Linked DNA regions of Homo sapiens: region 1 is linked to region 2. Evidence: promoter capture Hi-C in human tissues and cell types (Jung and others, 2019). All regions are on one chromosome and are shown on one strand. Each heading gives the region's core, a stretch centred on a gene start or on the middle of the fragment in contact. The rest is flanking DNA. Distances are from core to core; before and after follow the strand shown.

The links. The method cuts DNA at HindIII sites, captures the fragments that hold promoters and counts their contacts. A contact is called where the count stands out against the background at its distance.
Region 1: a fragment that was not itself captured here is called in contact with the fragment with the promoter of PRRG1 in region 2 in 1 of the 25 tissues and cell types used here (pancreas).

Annotation. Positions count from the first base shown.
Region 1 is chrX:37,308,514-37,312,244 of GRCh38, forward strand. No RefSeq gene overlaps it. Among named protein-coding and RNA genes, the nearest start is that of PRRG1, 39 kb to the right of the region's middle. The HindIII fragment of the contact is 5,199 bases long and covers 1-3,731 here.
Region 2 is chrX:37,347,704-37,351,324 of GRCh38, forward strand. PRRG1 (proline rich and Gla domain 1) reads left to right here and starts at 1,661. Exons shown (of 4, transcript NM_001142395.2): 1 at 1,661-1,692. RefSeq lists enhancers at 1,457-1,968, 1,969-2,479. The HindIII fragment of the contact is 19,124 bases long and covers 1-3,621 here.

The sequences.
Region 1 (3,731 bases), core at 393-2,892, 39 kb before region 2:
TGTCCACGCCTTCCCTTTTTTTTTTTTTTTTTTTTTTTTTTGAGATGGAGTGTCACTCTGTCGCCCGGGCTGGAGTGCAGTGGCACAATCTCGGGTCACTGTAAGCTCCGCCTCACGGGTTCATGCCATTCTCCTGCCTCAGCCTCCTGAGTAGCTGGGACTACAGGCGCCCGCCACCATGCCCGGCTAATTTTTTTTTGTATGTTTTTTAGTAGAGACGGGGTTTCACCGTGTTAACCAGGATGGTCTCGATCTCCTGACCTTGTGATCCGCCTGCCTCGGCCTCCCAAAGTGCTGGGATTACAGGCGTGAGCCAAAGCGCCCGGCCTGACCACGCCTTCCTATGCACCAGGGCCAGTACTGACTAATATGTTTGGCTTTATATCAGTTGATTTTGCAAATGGTAGGGAATTTGTCAGGTCATAATGGGAAAAGACATAGGTGGAGTCTTGTGCAGGCCTCCTTATGCTCGTACCTCCTGTACAGGCCTCCTTATGTTCATACCTCCTGTGAGCGGTCACGTAGAACATCCTCTTCTTCCAGCAACAAAAATGCAGCAATGTGTGTGATGTTTCTGCCTGAGGGAATCACTTTCTGACTCAGTTTAGGGTTTCTACTGGAGTTGGCAGCATGAGCACCTTCTGACTATCGTGTACCAGAAATTCAGATGCCCAGAAGGATAGCAGGTGCTCAGAATAAACCATATTGTTTGCACAAACAGTTCAGGGACAGTAAACACCCTTGTCAATTGGGGAATGTTAAGAACCCACCTCCCCCCCGCCACAGCCCCCTCCCAGATCTAAGCTCTCAGAAAGCAGTCATGGGCAAAGCTTACAAGCAGGCCTTTTTTTTTTTTTTTAATTATACTTTAAGTCCTGGGATACATGTGCAGAACGTGCAGGTTTGTTACATAGGTATACACGTTCCATGGTGGTTTGCTGCACCCATTAACCCGTCATCTACACTAGGTATTTCTCCTAATGCTGTCCCTCCCGCCACCCCCAACCCCTCCACAGGTCCCAGTGTGTGATGTTCCCCTCCCGGTGTTCATGTGTTCTCATTGTTCAACTCCCACTTCTGACTAAGAACATGCGGTGTTTGGTTTTCTGTTCCTGTGTTAGTTTGCTGAGAATGATGCTTTCCAGCTTCATCCATGTCCCTACAAGCAGGCCTTTCTAAGGCTTGCCATGTTCACTCTTTTCTGCATAGGAGAGTTGGCTTAGACCTCAGAAAATGGAAACAGAATTACTACGGAACCTGATGGGATAGAATGATGAGGTGAAACCGACAAGGTGAAGCCTATTAAGGGAAAACAAGAGCCTTGCATTAAAGTCTGAAAGATTGATCACTAGTACCGGATGGAGGAGACACAGCTTGACAGTAACTAATGTGGAAAACACCCAGGTGGGTTTGTTCCTTATTATGAATTAACAATCTTAACTGAGTCATTGGAAAACTAATGGAAACTTATTCTAAATTAGTGGGAATGTCATGCCCAGATCAATGGAGGTAGAACTCCCATGGTATTCTGAAATGGTCAAACATCATTTGGACAGATGTATGTGTTTCTAAGGTCCTTATCCTAATAGAGATATGAATAAATAAGAAACATGCAGTGGGCAGTGTGAGTTTCAAGGCTGACACTGAAAGAGGAGCAGTCTTAGAATTTTCTTTTTTTAATTTTTAATTTTAATTTTATTTTAATATACACCTACATAGTAGGTGTATATATGTATGAGCCACATGAGATGTTTTGATACAGGCATGCAATGGGTAATAATCACATCATGTAAAATCGGGTATCCATCTCCTCAAGCATTTAACTTTTCTGTTAGAAACAATCCAATTATACCCTTTTAGTTATTTGTAAATGTACAATTAAATTATTATTGAGTATAGTCACCCCGTCATGCTATCAAATACTCGGTCTTATTTATTCTTTCTGCCTATTATTTTTTGAGGTTTTGAAAACTTTATAAATGAGTCATAGCTATTCTCTTTTGCTCTATTTGAGCAGATCTGGGGCCAATGGTAGCAGCTTTGGGGAGACAGATACAGAGTCAATATAAAAAGCAATTGAATTAGCTGACTTTGGCAGGAAGGCGTTCTCCAGTACTGGAAGTATTCGTGCTGCTGGATGAACATTTATCTGTAGACTGGATGAGACATTGAACCTGAAGACCTGAAGATTCTTTCTATACTCTAGAATCCTTGACTCTATGGTTAAGGTAATTTAGACATTTTCTGTTGTGCCTATGGCTTAAACACTGTTCAATGAATAGTCAAAGTCCAACAAGAGTAATCTTTGTCCAGAGTCTTTGATTTTTATTCTGAGTGTTACAGCAGAAACAATCAAAACGCTCACGAGCACTATGGGCTCATTCTGTAACATTTCCTTATACAGATGGCCCCTAAATTTGGAGACAAAACCTTTCACATTGGTGATACTCATGCTTGGAATTTCCACATTCAAAAAAAATCTTAAAGGATTATGTGGCAAATATCAAAATAGTACCTCAAGGAAGGACACTGTTAAATTTAGGTGTGATTTCAGGGGACATCAGCAAGTTCCTTAGTCCCAATTGACCAGAACTCCTTGGATAAAACCATCAAAACATTTTCTTGTGGAAATTGAAAATGAGTTGACTTTCAGAAGTCCCTATTGAAAAAAAGTGTCCTCTAGGGGAGGTAATGCTTCAGAGAATATGATGTAAACCAGGTGTTTCTAAACTTTTTGTATCACATATATTATCAGCAGATATATGTGTGTGTATATATATATATATATATACACACACATATATACACACACATTTACATACACACACACATGTATTTGAGTATGTAACCCCAATATGTGTCTATGCATTTATTTACATATATTCACAACTCTCTTGACTCCCTCTTATTAAAATGTACTTCCTTAAAACAGTTACAACTCTAATCACTCTAGCTCTCTGCCTACTCTGCAGCTGTGCCCTGCTACTGCATTTGACTGGAGAAAAATCCATAACCATATAGATAGGTCTCTCTTTAAATTCATGCTGCAAACCTCAAACGGGCTCTTCATGTAGCTGGTCTATCAGACTGTTCTTCTCTGATCTATTCATGCTCCTCTAAGTGTATTTCATACTTTAGTGTGCTATAAACCACTTGGGGATGTTAGTAAATACAATTTCTGATGCTGCTGTGGACCCTGAGAACCTGCATTTCTAACAAGCTTCCAGGTGATGCTGACACTGCTGGCCCCTGAGTAACAAGTTCCTGGATGACTGTTTTATACCTTGGCATCTCTGTTCAAACATTTAACACCTCCTCCCTCATCGCTATTCTCAGCTACTGTCCTGATTCCTACAGCATTGAGAAAGCCTAAGTAATCAGAAGAGGACTTCACAGTCTCCATGTTATCTACACACCTACCAGTTTTTGGACTCGTATACTCTGCCCTTCCACCTGTTAATAAACATTCAAACAGAACTTGCCTAAAAGTAAACTTCTGATGCTGTCACTAAAATCTCTTCCATGTCCCGTGCACCCATTTCAGTGGATGGCACTGTCGCTCTTCCAGTCACTCAAGTAAGAAGCCTTGAGAAAATCTTCTTCATGTTTCTTTCTTCATGCCCTATATTCAACCTCTTACCTTTACCTTCAACATAGATCCACAATCTGACCACTTCTCACCAACTCCACTGTTACCACCTGCTCCAAGTTGCCTGGATCACCAAAATCAG
Region 2 (3,621 bases), core at 411-2,910:
TTGCCTGATCTACTTCAATCTAGTTTTTGTCATTTCAACCAAAATATCCTGAAAAATTTAGACAAAAAAGAAAAAAATAATCAAGTGAAAAGTTTTAAAAAAACACATATGCACATTTATTAAGGATGCAAATCTTACTTTTATTAGCCTAGCAATTTTTTTAAGAACATGTATGTGAAATATTTTACTAGTGAAATGAATAGGACAAAGTCCTGCTTCCAGGCACTTACAGACTTACTAATCCTGCAAAATTTGTGCCTACATTACCAATATACCTTTTGGCAATATATCTCTCTACATCCTCCCTAGGCTTATTTGACAAGTGCAAGATAGAAATGAGTTCTAGAAAATCTGATTTGTAAAATATATGAATGGAAGACAAGAAAGGTTAAATGGAAGAATTTTGGGATATTCAGATCTTTAAGGGCAATCACCAAACTCTCCCATAAAATGCTCCCATCACAGTTAAAATGCTTGCTAGGAAAGACTATTGGTGTGGTCCTGTGGCAATTCTTTTATTCTTAATAAGCCAAATGTTTCTTAATTCCATCACAATTAAAGTAAAAAGAAGGGGAACTTAGTTTGGAATAAATCACTTCAGGTCCACAGCCCAATTCACTTTGGATTCACTCAGGCGTGTGTTTATTTTAATAGCTGATCTGAAAGCATGTGAGATGCCACAGCTGACCAGACTGTAAACAGAAAAGCATACAAGTTAAAACCAAGCACGCATGCAGCATGGAATAATAATCAAGCTAGACTCCTTATGATGCAAAATGCCAGAAAACCTCCAAGCATTAGGTCAAAGTTTACACAATAGCAAAAGCCTTTTATTCTGTTTCTTAGAGGGGCTTGTAGAAGTTTAAGATTCAAGTTCTAAGATAGCTCTACCTAAAAAGCGAGGTCAAAGATGGGTTTTCTTCTCAAGATATTTGGGTAAGTTTGTACAAGACGGTTTTTTTTTTTTTTTTTTTTTTTAGAAAAAGCAGATAGTTGTCACCAAGAGTTGTCCGGAAACAGTGGCAAGGGAATTATTCCTCAAGGAAAGTGCAATTCTCTGAGCTGTAACAGTGGACAATGGTCGAATAGTCACCAACCACGATCTGGGCTCACACATAGCAAAGAGGTATATTAACTAGGATGCCCTACACAGGCGGTCTGTGGATGAGAAATCCCTATGCCCCTCACTTCACCAGGGCTGAAGAGTACGCGATGAGGAGAAATGACTAGGAAAAGGAATAATGTGTGGTGAGGTATGTATGCGAAAGAGAAAAAGGCTGGCGGGGACCCGCGGTGGCTAGGAGAGACGTGGCGGCCCAACGGCTGACTACTTGGGCCCGCGCCGAGCCAGGCTTTCTCCACGGTGCGTGTGGGAGTGCACAGAGGGGCCTCGACGGCTTTTCTGTATGTGTTATAAATAAACCCCAATAGTGGAAAGCTCCAGCAGGATGCCCTGAGCCCTGGGTCTTCCCAGCAGAAGCGGTGGAGGATCCGCCCCTCGTTTCCCACCCCCGCGCCCCACCCTGTTCCCGCCCCTTCTCTCTTAACCCCGCCCCAGCCCAGCCCCCGCCTCTTTCCACCTCCCTTCCAGTCCGCTCCCGGTTCCTGGCTCCAGCTAGGCTCGGCAGAAATAGGAGCGCGCAGGCGCGACGTGCGGCTCGCAGAACGGCGAGTAGCGGAGCGGGACCCGCTGTGAGTGTGGCGGCCGCGCTGGGTTCCTAGCTGGGGAAACGTGATCCAGGCGAAGCGCCCCAGGAAGGATTGGGGTGTGTGGGGGTGACTTCGGTTCTGCGAGGAGAAACCCGTCAGATATGCGGTAGCGTTGGTAGCGACGCTGCCTGTGGGTGTCCGGCCAGGGCCGCGTGGGGAGCGGAGTGCGTGGTAGCGGGAGTGGGTGAGGGTGGGTATGACGAGAAAAAAAATTGAAGGAATGGGGTTTACAGGCTGGAAGTCCGCACACAGACTGGGCAGGACCGCGAGGCTTGCCAACGGTGCTGGAGGGTGTCCCAGCTTCAAGTTCAGTCCCCTGCTTGGTGCCCATGAGGGACGTCCCAAGCTCATCCCTTCCTCCAGCGCTGCTTTCTCTGGTGCAGAGTTGCTAGAAACATTCCCCGTCGGAGGGGAAAGGATTTGGAGGCGGTGGGCTGTCGGCCCGGGCTAGTCCCAAGGAGGGCGTGGCGTTCGTGTGACTTTCCTTTACCCACCCCCGGGAATGTGTCCCTCTTCTGATCCATTGTGCCCGTGGACATTTTAACAAAGGCTATGACTGTTTTGTAGGCAGTGGCGGGTGACAGTGGGAGGGGGTGCGTGCGAGGTCGGTCGCGGTGCGGCCCTGGGGGATGGGAGAGCGGGGGGAGGGGGAGGCGGCGTGGGGGGAAGTGAAAGGAAGAGAAACAGTCTTCCTGCTTCAGGTTTTTCCTTCTTCCTGGTCCGCTGAATTTGATCACTGGTAGGAACAGCCCCAAGAGGGATATGACTGGAAAGTAGTGTGTGCGCGTTTGGACTCTGGCTCCAGCCACTGGTTTTTGTGATTGTGCTGTGCAAGTATTTTCTACGAGTCCCTTTAGGAGAAAAGCGAAACTAATGGGATTTGAGAGGAAATAATTGAATGAAAGGATGAAGAGGTTGAGTGACAAAACTTAGAGCTTAATTATTTGTCTGTTGATGGTCATACTATAAAGCCAGACTTTGAAGGATGCGAAGGTGTTCAAGCCAGGGTAAGTGAAAAGTTGGTTAGGCTACTGTTGATTGTTTCAATCAAGAGTGGATTATTGGGCATGTGTGTGGATGTGCTGTCAAGATCTTGGGCCGACTCACTTTAGAACCTTTGAAAATAATATTAAGGATACAAAACATTAGGGCAAATATTGTAATATTGGATAAAGCTCCATATGCTTTCATTTTCAAACTTAGGGACTTTTATGAAAGATAGTATATGTGTTCCCAAGCATAGATGTTGATATTTTTACTCATTTGTTTTAAGTTAATACAACAAAATAAACTGAACTTCCTCCTCTCCACCCCTTTCCCTCGATTGTAAATCCCGTTTTATAAACGTTTACTTTCTGATCTGAAGTATACTTAAAAACACAATTACCCCGCCCAACCCCCACCCCTGCACCAACCCCAGGCATGAGGTGAACAGGATTTCTTCTGGTTTTATTGTTATGTTATTCTTTCTTTTTCTATTTTCCCAAATTTGGGGCAGGTGGAGGGCGGGGAGTGTTAGGGATGCCTTTTCTCTTTTCTAGTGCCTGATGAACTCCTATTCATCTTTCTAGACTTAGCCTGATTCACTTCTTGAAAAATTTTGCCATCTTCTCCAGAGTGAATTAATCACACCCTTTTCTGTTAAATTTATATAACTTGCCTTATTTCTCCATTACTACTAGAACCTCAGTCTTTTGTGTTACCCTTGTACCTAGAGCTGCCTGGCATGTGATAAGCACCTAATAAACTAACTTACAGATATATATTAATAAATGCTGTTAGAAAGATGGTAATTCATAGGCCGGGTGCAGTGGCTTACTCCTGTAATCCCAGCACTTTGGGAGTCTGAGGCAGGTGGATCACAAGGCCAGGAGATCCAGACCATCCTGGCTAACATGGTGAAACCCCGTC